Regions from separate parts of the Homo sapiens genome. Here region 1 is linked to region 2. Evidence: promoter capture Hi-C in 16 types of primary human blood cells and fetal thymus (Javierre and others, 2016). All regions are on one chromosome and are shown on one strand. The core of a region is centred on a gene start or on the middle of the fragment in contact, and the rest is flanking DNA. Distances in the headings are between cores, read along the strand shown.

Region 1 (7,070 bases), core at 3,125-5,624, 73 kb after region 2:
GAGAAGGTAACAGAGTTGAATATTAGAATAAATTAGAATCTGGTTGGACACGGTGGCTCAGGCCTGTAATCCCAGCACTTTGGGAGGCCAAGGAGGGTGGATCACTTGAGGTCAGGAGTTCGAGACCAGCCTGGCCAACATGGCGAAACCCCGTCTTTACTAAAAACACAAAAATCAGCCAGGCATTGTGGTGCATGCCTGTAATCCCAGCTACTCGGGAGGCTGAGGCAGGAGAATCACTTGAACCTGGGAAGCAGAGGTGGCAGTGAGCTGATCGTGCCACTACACTCCAGGCTGGGCAACAGAGCAAGACTATGTCTCAAAAAATAAAATAGAATAAAATAAAAATAAGTTGCTAATCCCCAGTAACCATGCAGAGAGGTCATCCAGGTCATTCATCTAAAACTGGTAAGACTCCAAAGGCAAACCAGCAACTATGTAAGCCCAAAGGACTTCTCTAATGCCCTGTCCCTGTGTCCTTATGTCCCTGGGTCTCAAATACTGTCTTCCTTGCTCTATAGCTGACTCCTAAAGGACTAAAGCTAAGATCTGCTCTTGAGCCAGGATGGTGTCGTATTGAATTCCAGGTCAGGCCAACTAAAGCCAAAATCCTGAGGGAAAGGAGCAGCTCTCTTATGTCCTCTGTTTTCAGAAAGACTCAACACATTGATCTTACTACATTTTAAAGTTCAGTGACCATGGAGTGGCCTGAGTCTGGTCATGTTCACATTTTCTAACCAAAATGGAAAGGATCCTTTTCTGCTGGCCTTTTCTATCTGCTGTTTTTGGTTTTAAGTAGCTGAAATTTTCCGTTGAGGTTCTTTTAAACGCCTACATGCAAACTGAAGAGCACTCAAGCTTTGGTGGGATATTACCCACAGCTGGAGTGATGGAGGAAGGGAGGCAAGTACAAGCCTCAGGTGCATCCTTCTCTTAAAAAAATAAAAAATAAACACTTAAGCAAACAAATTCCACTTGAAAGCAGGGAAGACCTATCCAGAGAAAGAAGTAAACCTCTTTCCAAGTAGGAAACAGATATCATTTCTTATATAATCCAGATCCATAGGGTGGGCAAATTTGAAACATGTTGGACTTATCCTACAGCCCTACATCTTTGCTAGTCAAAGAGTGAAAAGTTGTGAACCATGAACTGTGGTAGGAAGCAGTGGAACTGTGTGGCAGCCCTGGCTCCTCTGATGGTGGTTAGGCCCTGTCTTGCTCTATTAAGCAAACACAGTTAATATAGATGAAAGGTAACCTTGATAGAAGTGAAAATTGAAACTTGGGTTGAAGGTAGCAAGCCAGGCACAGCTGCAGTTGTACTTCCTCCTATGCAGCAAGAGGAGCAACACTTACTGATGTTTTTTGGAAGGGATGTAGTTTTTTAAAATATCTTTTTTCAGACTGTTTTGGGTTTTAACATTTACACCATTGATGGGAGGGTGTGTAATACAGTTGGTAAGAACCCACTTAGGCCTTATATGTCTAGTGCATGAGGTCAAATCCAAGTAATTGATAGTTCAAGCTTAAGTTTTGCATTCTAATCACACCTCTGCCAGTAACTGGATGTGTAACCTTCGACAAATGACCAAAAACATCTCTGCTCCCAGATTTCCTCATCTGAGAAACAAGAGGGTTGGATTAGATGACCTTTAAATTCCCTTCCAGCCCTACACTCCATTGATTTGTGATTCCTCATGGGGAGGTACAACTTTTGATTTCTAAGGACCAATGGTTGAAAAAGTAAGCATTTATATAGCATATTTTATATATGCAAAATCCCTTACAAATGTTTATTATTCTTACATCAGGCAAATTTTTAGGTTTTACTAGTGTCAGTGCAAGTACATAAATTTGCCTTCTTTGTTTCTTATGTTCTTCATATTTTTCCCACGTTCTTCATATGTTCTTATGCTCTTCATGAAGAGTATTACAGCTCTTCTTTTAAATTTCATTCATTTACATTGCAGTTCTTAAGATAGTACTTGGTCAGCCAACTCACTTGAGCCAGTCCCTCCTCTCCTATCCAGTCCTATTACACAATCCTTGAGTCCTTGAGTTTAGTTCTCCCTAACTTGGGACCTAATGGTCCTTCCCCTTATTTAGATTGAGCCCCACTTACCTGTGTCGATGAAAGTGACTCCTTAGGTTATATGAAAGAATTACTTTTCCTTTTGTCTTTCTCAACACTTTTTCATTAGTACTGACAACTTCCTCTACAGTCAATGTTGTGCCTTTATCAGCTCCAAGAGAGACAGAGATAAGATGTGTTTTAGCAATTCATATACGTGGAAGGGGAAGAGGCAATGCATGGCTTAAAATTAGAAAAACTATGTTAACTAGTCAACTCTTAATCTTAATGGCTTACACTGGATGCATCTGAAGGATTCAAACAATATTTTCTCCTTGAAACCTAAGAGTACATCACCTTGCCTTTTTAACTGCAGCCACCAAAAACAGTACTAGATCTGAGAACCCTTCCTCTCCCCTAGTACTGGAGAAGAGTTGCTCAATGTTTGTTTCATGGCCACTTTGAGCAAACTTAGCTAAAATCTATTATCTGTAATTTTCTGGATAGCCTAAAACACTATCGTCTATTTTTATGTGTGTAAGTATGTGTGTTTTCCTCTGACTGTGGTTCTGAATTTAAATAACGTGCGGTCACGCTAATGGTGCTTTCTTGTTTTGTAGATGTACAGTGTTTTGTTAGCTTCGATTGGTATTTAATTGTCAGTTGTGGGTCTCTGCTGTTTGAGCTGCTTTGATAGCTTCAAGTATAGTCGTTGTTCATTTCTTGCATTTTCTTCCCTGCAGATGATTCAATGAAAGTGAAAGATGAATACAGTGAAAGAGATGAGAATGTTTTAAAGTCAGAACCCATGGGAAATGCAGAAGAGCCTGAAATCCCTTACAGCTATTCAAGAGAATATAATGAATATGAAAACATTAAGTTGGAGAGACATGTTGTCTCATTCGATAGTAGCAGGCCAACCAGTGGAAAGATGAACTGCGATGTGTGTGGATTATCCTGCATCAGCTTCAATGTCTTAATGGTTCATAAGCGAAGCCATACTGGTAAATAGTCTGCTTTTTTCATTCTTCTGAAAACTCTCCTAATGCAGCCACGTGAGAAATGAAGTGGTGGAATTTGGAACTTTTGGTTACTTTCATTGATTTTTGCTATAATGCTGATGTATCTCTCTCTCTGCATTGCTGTTCACTCAGTGCTTTTTATTCCTGCCTCACCATGCATTTGGCAAACATATTGCAAATGCTATGAATAAAAAAAGACTGTAGAGAGCACAGTGTTCTAGGTCAGCCAAATACTTTTTCTTCAGTTTCTAAGTAGGAGTTGAATTGTGTGATTTGCTTCTTAGCCATCTTTTGTATATTTTTGCATAACATTTTTAATAAGAGCAGATCTTCTTATTGTATTGGGTTCAAATTTGGTAAATGAAAGGACATAGTTTTTATTTCCAGCTTAAAATAATGTATCTTCAGACAATAAACAGGTAGTCTATAGAAATGCATACAAACACAACCATCGCACTTGAGCCAGTCGATTCCATCCCATATCTCATATGAAGACTTTAAAAAGGAGAATTTCTAGCCCTCAACACCTTGTAAGGACTTTAGTTTCTGGCTCTTTTTTCAAAGGAGATTATATTCAAAAGGAATACTAAAAAATTAGCCAGGCATAATGGCAAACACTGGTAGTCCCAGCTATTCTGAAGGCTGAGGTGACAGGCTCACTTGAACCCAGGAGGTCAAGGTTTCAGTGAGCCATGATGGGACCATTGCACTCCAGCCTGAGCAACAGAGCAAGAAGACCCTGTCTAAAAAAAAAAAAAAAAAAAAAAGGGAGTACCAAGTAATATAGTAATATAAAAACTTAGATCTAGAAAGCACTTCTAGAGCTGCTCTTGTTTCTTTGCTCTGATTCAATATGATACCTAAAATAGCCTTGCTAGTGGGTGCTTTTTCTCTTCTACAGAGGAGATTTCATAAGTAAGTCTTAGGCTTGCCTTGAAATGCAGCTCCCAACTGATCCCAATGTGAACAGTAATTGTCTAAAAGATGAGCTTTTCCCCTAGGCATCTAATCTGTGCATATGTTTCTCCACTTGCCTGTGACCAGAAATCTCCTTTTTTGTCCTTTTTAAAGGTGAACGCCCATTCCAGTGTAATCAGTGTGGGGCATCTTTTACTCAGAAAGGTAACCTCCTCCGCCACATTAAACTGCACACAGGGGAAAAACCTTTTAAGTGTCACCTCTGCAACTATGCATGCCAAAGAAGAGATGCGCTCACGGGGCATCTTAGGACACATTCTGGTAAGTGAGAGAAATGAGCATTCCTTGTCTAGGAAGTGCATTCCTCAGAGCCCAGTGTGGAAACTAGAAAGAGTTAAGTAGGAAGGTTTCAATCTGTCATTCTTGTTCTGAAGGGTTACAACAGCAGAGACCTCTAGGGCTAATTACACGACCATTAAGGCACTAATTGCTCTCCGTCTGCCTCAGTGGAGATGATCATCTCCTCACCATCCTTGCACCCATGGAGAACAACACAGTCAGATAGGAAGAGCCCACCCTATAAAAAATGTCCTTTTAATTTTTGTGAGAAAATTATAGCCATCAGTATTTTCTTCTGGTAAACTTTATTAGAAGATTATTTTCCCAACACACACACTCTTTCCATTCAAAAGACGAGACAAGCAAATGATGTACAGTTTGTAAATTATGAAAAACTGTGATCTGGATATAAATCATTGTTTGGGGGCTACTTTTTGGCCATTTGGGATAAATTTATTAAATCCAACTTTCCTCTTGATTGGCCCACTTTTTTTTTTTTTTTTAAATAAACATGAGGTCTCACTATGTTGCTCAGGCTGGTCTCAAACTTCTGAGCTCAGGCATTCCTCCCACTTTGACCTCCCAAAGTGCTGGGATTACAGGCAGGAGCCACCATGCCCAGCCAGCCTACTTATTTTAAATCTCTAAAAGATTGAACAACGGTAAAGATTTGTAAAAGTTATGTGCTGTCGTGATGTTTTTACTCCTTATTTTGACCAAGATAATACTTTTTTTTCAAGATTTAGAATTTCCGTCCTAGAAAAATAAGACTGAGTTTATTTTCAAATTTGGGACCTCATGTTCTTGATGTTATCTGGCAAAATTTTAATTGGAAAAAAAGGCTTGTTTTTATGTCAGTTCACATCTACTGCTTTGATTAAAACCTAGCCCCAAACTCAAAACTTGTTATAATTCAGCCACTAGGATTAAACAAGTCAGCCCCAACAAAACCCACCATGAGAGATCATAATTGGCAATTGAAGGGTTTCTCTCTTTTACAGCTCATTTTTCAAAGTAGTGAATTAAGGATGAGTTTGGTTCGAAAAAAATTAGAATAGTTCTCTACTGTTGCCTTTTTCAAGTAAGAAACAATAGTAGGCTTTTTAAAGACAGATTCCAGAGAACCCAATTTATGCAGAAACGTAACATTTTTAGCCCTAGCAAACCTGCATTTGTTTTAATTTAGGATTCCATAAGGATCTTTTAGTGCTTTAAATCCCAAAGCCTCTGTTTTAAACAGAGCAAGAGTTAGAAAATAAAAATTTTAGCCCCTAAAACTGACAAATTCATTGAGTATATTCTATCAACAATCAGAAAGACCAGCCTTGCACAGATAGTTGAAGTTATTACTTACATATTTCAAGCAATAAAGCATTTGGGGAGTTGGCAGAATAAAGTTTGCATGAATTGTATGGGTGAAACCTTTCCTTCATCTTAGACATTTAGACGAAGTCATTTTTACAATTCATTTTTATTTCTCTCTTTTTTTTTTTTTTTTTGAGACGGAGTCTTGCTCTGTTGCCTAGGCTGTTGCAGTGGCGTGATCTTGGCTCACTGCAACCTCCGCCTCCCAGGTTCAAGCGATTCTCCTGCCTCAGCCTCCCTAGTAGCTGGGATTATAGATGCCTACCACAACGCCCAGCTAATTTTGTTTGTTTGTTTGTTTGTTTGAGATGGTGTCTCACTCTGTCACCCAGGCTGGAGTACAGCGGCGCCATCTCAGCTCACTGCAACCTCTACCTCCCAGGTTCAAGCGATTCTCCTGCCTCAGCCTCCCTAGTAGCTGGGATTATAGATGCCTACCACGACGCCCGGCTAATTTTGTTTGTTTGTTTGAGATGGAGTCTCACTCTGCCGCCCAGGCTGGGATGCAGTGGTGCAATCTCAGCCCACTGCAACCTCCACCTCCCAGGTTCAAGCGATTCTTCTGCCTCAGCCTCCTGAGTAGCTGGGACTAAAGGGTCACGCCATCACGCCTGGCTAATTTTTGTATTTTTAGTAGAGATGGGGTTTCACCACATTGGCCAGGCTGGTCTCGAACTCCTCACCTCGTGATCCGCCTGCCTCGGCCTCCGAAAGTGCTGAGATTACAGGCGTGAGCCACTGTGCCTGGCTAATTTTTGTATTTTTAGTAGAGATGGGGTTTTGCCATGTTAGGCAGGCTGGTCTCGAACTCCTGACCTCAGGTGATCCTCCCACTTCGGCCTCCCAAAGTGCTGGGATTACAGGTGTCAGCCACTGCGCCCGGCCTATTTTTATTTCTATTATTCAAAAATATCCTGGCCGGGTGCAATGGCTCACACCTGTAAGCCTCTCACTTTGGGAGGCCAAGGTGGCCTTTGGGAGGCCCAGACTTCACCTGAGCCTATGAAATTGGGGCTGTAGCGAGCTGTGATTTCACCACTGCACCCAAGCCTGGGTGATAGAGTGAGACCCTGTCTCAAAAACAAAAAAACAAAAAAATCCGTAGTTAATTAGCTCAGTTTTTATTGTTTTAGCCTAGACTTTGCTATAGCCACGTGGCAAGGATGAGCTAAATTTACCCAAATATGTCAATGTTCTGAAAAGGCCATCAGTTTCTAGCCGAATGGCTAACTCCCACAAACTACAGCAATCTTTACTTACAGCCAGATGGATGTCCAAAATAAAGAATCCTTTCCTATTTCATTGCTTATACCACATTAACCTCCTTGAAGAATAAAAGGGCCCTATTTTCTTTT
Region 2 (7,261 bases), core at 1,120-3,619:
ACGGATATTGATATATTACTATTAACTGAAGTCCAAACTTTATTCAGATTTCCTTAGTTTTTTACTCAATGTCCTCCCTACCTCGTTTGTTTTTTTGCTCCAGGATCTCATGCGGGATCCCACATTACCTATAGTCATCGTATCTCCTTAGATTCCCCTTGGCTGTGTCAGACTTTTCTTGTGTTTGAAGGTCTTGACCTGGCTTTAATTGGTGAGGTATTTTGTAGAATGCCTCTCTACTGGAATTTGGTGTCTTTCTCCATATTAGACTAGAATTATGGATTCTTAGGAGGAAGATTACAGAGATAAAATGACATTCTCATCACATCATATCAAGGGGACATACTATCAACATGCCTTATCACTTGATGTTAACCTTGGTCTGCTGGCTGAGGTACTGTTTGTCAGGTTTCTCCACTGTCAACTTATTCCCCTGCTTTCATACTATACTCTTCGGAAGGAAGTCACTTTGTGCACCCACACTTAAAGAGTGGGGATTTATGCTGCATCTCCTTGAAGGTGGAGTAGCTACATAAGTTATTTTACCAATTCACTTTTAATCCCCTTAGGTATCACTCTCGGGAGTCCGAAATACTCAGTATTGAACTATTTACAGAGTACTAACACGTTCCACTGTCAAATATACAGAAGAACATTGTAATGGAAAATCATAAAGTTTCCTTACAACTTTTTTTTTTTTTTTTTGAGACGAAGTCTCACTCTGTTGCCCAGGCTGGAGTTCAGTGGCAAGATCTCGGCTCACTGCAACCTCTGCCTGCTGGGTTCAAGCGATTCTCCTGCCTCAGCCTCCTGAGTAGCTAGGATTAGAGGCATGCGCCACCACGCCCAGCTAATTTTTGTATTTTTAGTAGAGACAGTATTTTGCCATGTTGGCCAGGCTGGTCTCGAACTCCTGACCTCGTGATCCACCTGCCTTGGCCTCCCAAAGTGCTGGGATTACAGGCGTGAGCCACTGCGCCTGGCCTACAACTTTTTCATAACCAAATAACTTTTCATCCTCATACCATCCCTGTGAAATTTTACAGTTCCTCTTCTGCTACTTTTGATGTGCTATTTTTGCTTTTAGAAACTAACAAACAACAAATTTCCCCTTTCAGTACTAAAATTAGACCTAGTGTTTAGAGTATTTCTCCAAAATTGACATCCTGCAGAACTCCCAACTCATACAGTTATAGAGATGCTACTGTGGTGCTTAAAGCCAGTGTAGTTTTTCACCCACTTGAATATATATACACACATCACATAGACTGCCTATACCAACGACATACTATTGTTTAAAGCTACAATTCATAAAATTACAGCATGTATACTTTAACTTGTAAGTGTGGGTTTCTTCTGATATGGACAGCTGATGCACAAACCCTCAGCCTTAAGTCTCAAATATATTTGTATGCACTAATATAATTTTCTAATAGCGGTGACAGTGGCCTTTTGAGACTCATTCGTATATTGTCCCACACGCTGGATATCTTTAGAAGGGCTCACCTGAACAATGTCCCTTAGACCTCAATGTGAAGAAAAGTTCTGCTTTGAAAAACAGTTTTGTGGTCACTTCCCCTTTCCTCTCTCTGCAGTCAAATGTGTGCTTTACCTCTGGACAGTAGGGAGGGTGTTGGGAGAAGATGTTGACTGATACATATCTGTATACTAACATCTTTAAGTTAATTTTACAATCTTACTGCCCCCACCTTCCACCCTTAGCTCTACTTTCTTTGCTTAATTTTCTGGTACATCATATATGTATTTTTGTAAGGTGTGTATTTAGAAGAAGGCAGGCTGGGAGAAAATAAACACACTCTATAAAACACTCCCTCTATTTATATAGAGTGGGTAGTATTGCGTGAGTGGTGGCAAATAAATCAAGCAGTTCCCAGAGGGAAAACAAAAGTGAGATAAATGCTTCCAAAAATTAAAAAGTTGAATTGATAGAAGTGCCAAAATCCTTTCCAACTGTCTGAAAACTTGGACCAAAAACTTTTACCATGTGAAATGAAAAAGTGAGGAAGGAAAAAAAAATACTTTGAAAGAAGGGGGTTCTCATTGATACTTTCCACGGCTGTTATCACTGAATCTAGACAAAAAGTTCCAGATCTTCCTCAATTTAAGATAAACGTCTTTGAACTTCAGCTTGCCAAGAAAGCAAGGCTGACCCCCGACCCTCCGTGTGATGTCACTTTTCTCATCCATTATCCTTCTAAAATAGACATTTTGAGACAATTTAGTGATGCGACATTTCCATCCTGTCGGGGTTCCTTGGGTTTGACATTCGAAAGGGGGCTGGAGGCGCGGAACCCGCGGCACTCCGCGGCCAGCGTCCTTTAAAGCCGCCGCCAGCCAGCGCCGCTGTAACCCCGCGCACCGGCAGGTCGCCGGCTCCTGCCCTTTTCAGTCTGCGCCGACGCGGCTGCCGGATCCCGGGGACTCCCCGCGCCGGGAATCTCCCGCCAGCTGCGCGCTGAGTCCAGGCGACGGCAGGAGCACGTGGAGAGGCCGAGTAGCCACAGCGGCAGCTCCAGCCCGGCCCGGCAGCGACATGGAAGGTGAGCCTCCAGCCCGCTTCTTTTCTCCGGGGTCTTTGAGAAACTTAACCTGTGCAAGCAGTAGAAAGAGTTTCTTCTGAATCTCAGTTTTGCTTCTATTTACTTCTTTTGTCAAAAGTAAATATGAGGTATTTCAGAGGACAAAGCGCGTCGGTTCTCTTAACGTCTCTCACTTGTCCTTCCCCCGCCCTTTGGAAAGTGATAACTTCTTCGCAATTTTATTTCTAAAGAGTTGTCAGACATGGGGGGTCTACCCTACATCTGCAGAGGAAGAGCACTTAAGGGGTGTCCCTGAAATGGCTGCAAATCTGGGGTGGAATAATCAACCCTTTTGGATATTTTTTCCTTCATGGCCTCAGTGTTTATTGGAATTAGACTAATCTGAGTAACTTGTTTTCTTCCAAGGGTAAATGGTGTCATATGGGAAAGGTACATTTTAAAGCGGTTGGCATTTGCAGTTCCCTTGGAACTCGATCTTCTAATGAGTCTTCTTTACCCAGCGCAAAAAATCAGGTTCACATTAGGAGTTTCATATGAATTAATTTTGAAAGTCGTAACACTATCCTTGCTTCTCAAACATTTTTCATTCTGTACTTCCTTGGGATACCTAAAATTTCACACTGCTACTGTAAACTCTTCAATGGTCTTTTCAACAAGTGTTTCTAAAACCTTGAAAATGGCAAATGCATCTCAACTCGGGGGGGGATGGTGGGATTAAGAAATTCAGAATTTCATTCTATTAAAAATGAGATATTGACACCTAACTAAAATGTTACTTTGATAAATATGAAGATCGTGGGTATTTTCTTCATAATAATGGAAGAATCTCTAATTAACAATGAACTGATCTTTGGCAGCTTTATTTCTAGAGTATATAAAGTTGTTAAAATATCAAAAACTTTATGCTTTTAATTTTTTTAATTAGGGCTTGAAAACTTTAAAAATTTTGCATTTTTAACATTTAAATAATGGTTTATTGAAGTGTAATTTTTAACAAAGGTTTTATTGGCCAATAACAAGGAAAAAAAGTTGGGCTGTTGTATACTATGGGAAAAATAATTTTTGAAAAGCTCATATGCTTTAATTATTACAAATGATTAATTTGTTTTTATGAAATTATAAATCAGTACTCCAACACTATTTTTCCTAGCCGTAACCATACCACGTATCAAGGATAATGTACAGAATCATGTAAATCCATAGAAACTGGAGTATTTCTCTATAAATGTTAATACTTCCAAATTCATTTATTTAATGTGCAATAAAGAAACTAAATAGCATATCTTAGGTTATTGGTGTACTAACACAGATGTTTAATAAGCCTGAAGACTCCCTTAAGAAGAAAAGAATGAAAACTTGTGTAGAATTTAATTTAGAGTGTGTAGACTATAAATGGAAAGAGAATGTAGATCAATAACTTTTTAAAGTTGTGTTTACATGATTAGATTAAATCTATAGGTCCATGGAGATAGATAGTATAGATTATGCTTAATGAAAAAACTTTAACATTTAAATTTTAAAAAGAGGTTAATTATATGAATTTGGCTATTTTAATGTCAGGTCCTTGCGTATAGAGTATTTGATGTGGTAAAATATCTGGTTCATTATAGCTACCCAAAATAGACTAATCTGGCCCATGTTTTTGATATTTAAAAAATTTTTATATCATCTTGTGGTTTTGATCTCAGTCTAGATTAGAGATTTGGTCTATAGTGTATACCTCTCTTGGCAATGTAAGAAAGTAGAATACTTCATGGAATACCTTTATTTTCTGCCCAATTTGGGGGTCACATTGATTCATAACAGTTTATTGTACAATGCAATACTGTATATCATTCCTTCAGCATATAAAGTCATTTAACAAATTCATTTATCTTTTAATTAATTTATTGAGACTTTCTATGTATGAAGATGTCAGATGAATAAGCTTTTGAAATAGAAATCTTGTAGAAATGAAGATTTAATGAATATACTAAAATCAGAAGCTATAACTTTTTAATTTTCTCACAATCTGTGACCTTAAATATTTTCTACCCAAAGACTGTTTATGAATCACTAAATTTTATTATTTGTACTATAACATCTCTTCTGTCTGTTATGGTCGGGAAATGAGGTGGTTCACAAACATGAATTTCACAGGTAATGGCAGACTTCTTATTTAATGTAAAACATTTTTATTTTTAACAATATTGAGTAAAGATTTTTCTAAGTATATTTATTACACAGCTCCCTGCTTTATAAGCAAGGTACATAAGAGATAAGTTTATCTCGGCAACTCTGAGTTACTGTTCTCACCATCAGATCATATATTATTCCATAATATATTCTCACAGGGGTTTTGAGCTGAATGCCCCTACACCAAACATACCTAGGATATTGTACAATTTTTGTCTCCTTCTTGATGTCAGCTTATATTTCTTACCACATAGATTTTGTGGTAGTAGGGTTTTGTTTCAGGTCCCTTTCCATGTTCTGGATGGCTGAGATTAACAGAGATAAAGCCTGTAGATGATGGAATCTGTTTGCCCTCCATTGTGAGCGTATGGAGGATGAAATGCGAAGGTTTTAAGAAACAAAAGCCACAGAAAGGCCGTGGCGTCCTGGTAGAACATAATTTTTCAAAATTCCTGTTTGTACTTCCTTTAATCCAGTATGCTATTTCATGCTTCCATGTCTTTGCTATTATGTTCACCCATTCTCTACTTGCTTATGCCTACTCATCTTTCAAGACTCTGCTCAGGCATCATCGCCATGAAGGCTCTCTGATGACCTTCTTCTGATGACCTCCTCCTAGTGCCTTCTGGTGATCACCCCTACCCAGTCTCTCATGTTCCTTCACCTCAGCTAAGGGCCTCTCCTTTCTGTGTATACTTCTACCACATTGTGTTGAAATTATTTATTGATGTAGGTGTTTATTCCCCCTCTGGTCTTTAAGCTTCTGGAGAACAGAGACTGTGTCTTGTTTTTGTACACTGAATGCGAAGGACAGTTTCTGGTTCATAGAAGGCCCTCAGAATTTGTTGCATTCAATTAAAATAGTGCTGAAAAAGTACTTTTTATTATGTTTATTGTGATGCATTTTATTTAAATAAATTTTTAAAGTAGGAGATTGGGGCTAGTAATTCTTTGATAAAGCTCAGTAATTTTTTAAGCACTTAAACTGTATAATTGAAAAAGAAAGCTTGGAAAACAAAAATGTTATTGGATATTTTTTGCTAGACTGTCACTTAAAGCCAATTTTAACAAAATTAGATTTAGGGGGTACATGTGCAGGTTTCTTACATAAGTATATTATGTGATGCTGAGGATTGGGCTTCTATTGATCCTGTCACCCAAATAATGAGCATAGTGTCCTATAGGTAGTTTTTCAACCCTTGCCCTCCTCCCACCCTTCCCCATTTTGGGGTCATCAGTGTCTAATTTGGGGGTCACATTAATTCATAACAGTCCATGTGTACCCAGTGTTTAGCTCCCCGTCATAAGTGAGAACATGCGGTATTTGGTTTTCTGTTTCTGTGTTAATTCACTAAGAATAATGGCCTCCAGCTGCATCCATGTTGTTGCAAAGGATATGATTTCATTCTTTTTTGTGTAAAGCCAAATTTTAACTGTTAAATTTACATAAGCAGATTTCAGGATCGCAATTAGTCCATTAAAATATCCATTGAATATGAGCAGAAATTTGTTTTCTCAGTCAGTAAGATATAGATGATGCCATAAAAATAGCATACGCTTTCAAGTGATACTTTAAAAATACATTGTTATAAACTTTTCATTCATATATAAATGTATATACTTACACTTATTTAGGACTAAAAGATTATTGATTATTGGTAGATCTTTTATCAGACATCCAGTTTTTTTTTTTTATTATTATTTTTAAAGAGATAGTCCTTGCTCTGTTGCCCAGGCTACCACAAACTCCTAGGCTCAGACGATCCTCCTGCCTCAACCTTCTGAGTAGCTAGGACTACAGGCATCCACCACCATAACCTGGTAATTTATTGTACAAACCGCCATGACCTGCTGATTTATTATCTTTCATTTTTTGTAGAAATGGGGGTCTCACTATGTTGGTCAGGTTGGTCTTGAATTCTTGGCCACAAGTGATCCTTCCGCCTCAACCTTCCCAAGTGCTGGGATTACAGGAGTGAGCCACTGCACCTGGCCTAGATAGATGTCCAATGATAATTGGCTCATATGTCAAGCTATAGTTCCAGACCATGTATGAGAAGAACTGAGTGATTAACACAGAAACTTGCCTATAGTAGGTGCTCAATAAATGTCTTTTGTCCTAAGGATTCATTAATTATTTTGAAAAGAGACCCTACACATCACAAGGCCATAGAATGTACTCTGCTATTTAGCCTTTATTAAATTTAGCTCCATATTAACTGGTATATTTATGATAATTAGAAATTATAAGGATGAGGCCAGGAGTGGTGGCTCACGCCTGTAATCCTAGCACTTTGGGAGGCTGAGGCGGGCAGATTGCTTGAGCCTGGGACTTCAAGACCAGCCTGGGCAACATGGTAAAACCCTGACTCTACAAAAACTACAAAAATTAGCCAGGTGTGGTAGCACATGCCTGTAGTAACAGCTACTTGGAAGGCTGAGGTAGGAAGATGGCTTGAGCCTGGGAGGTCGAGGCTACCGTGAGCCATGAGCATGCCACTGCACTGACATGAGCATGCCACAGC

What was found. Contacts are between HindIII fragments. The CHiCAGO score rates a contact against its expected background, and 5 or more counts as called.
Region 1: a contact is called between a fragment that was not itself captured here and the fragment with the promoter of IKZF3 in region 2, in 6 of 17 cell types (naive CD4 T cells, activated CD4 T cells, total CD8 T cells and 3 more). The highest score is 8.1, in naive CD4 T cells.

What each region holds. Positions count from the first base shown.
Region 1 is chr17:39,788,678-39,795,747 of GRCh38, reverse strand. IKZF3 (IKAROS family zinc finger 3) reads left to right here. Exons shown (of 8, transcript NM_012481.5): 4 at 2,815-3,075; 5 at 4,165-4,332. Among named protein-coding and RNA genes, the nearest start is that of GRB7, 54 kb to the right of the region's middle. RefSeq lists enhancers at 2,768-2,897, 3,995-4,104. The HindIII fragment of the contact is 5,694 bases long and covers 1,528-7,070 here.
Region 2 is chr17:39,859,420-39,866,680 of GRCh38, reverse strand. IKZF3 (IKAROS family zinc finger 3) reads left to right here and starts at 2,369. Exons shown (of 8, transcript NM_012481.5): 1 at 2,369-2,561. The coding sequence starts at 2,555. RefSeq lists enhancers at 1,611-1,670, 1,731-1,800, 2,528-2,617, 2,628-2,747, 5,106-5,265. The HindIII fragment of the contact is 8,560 bases long and covers 1-4,490 here.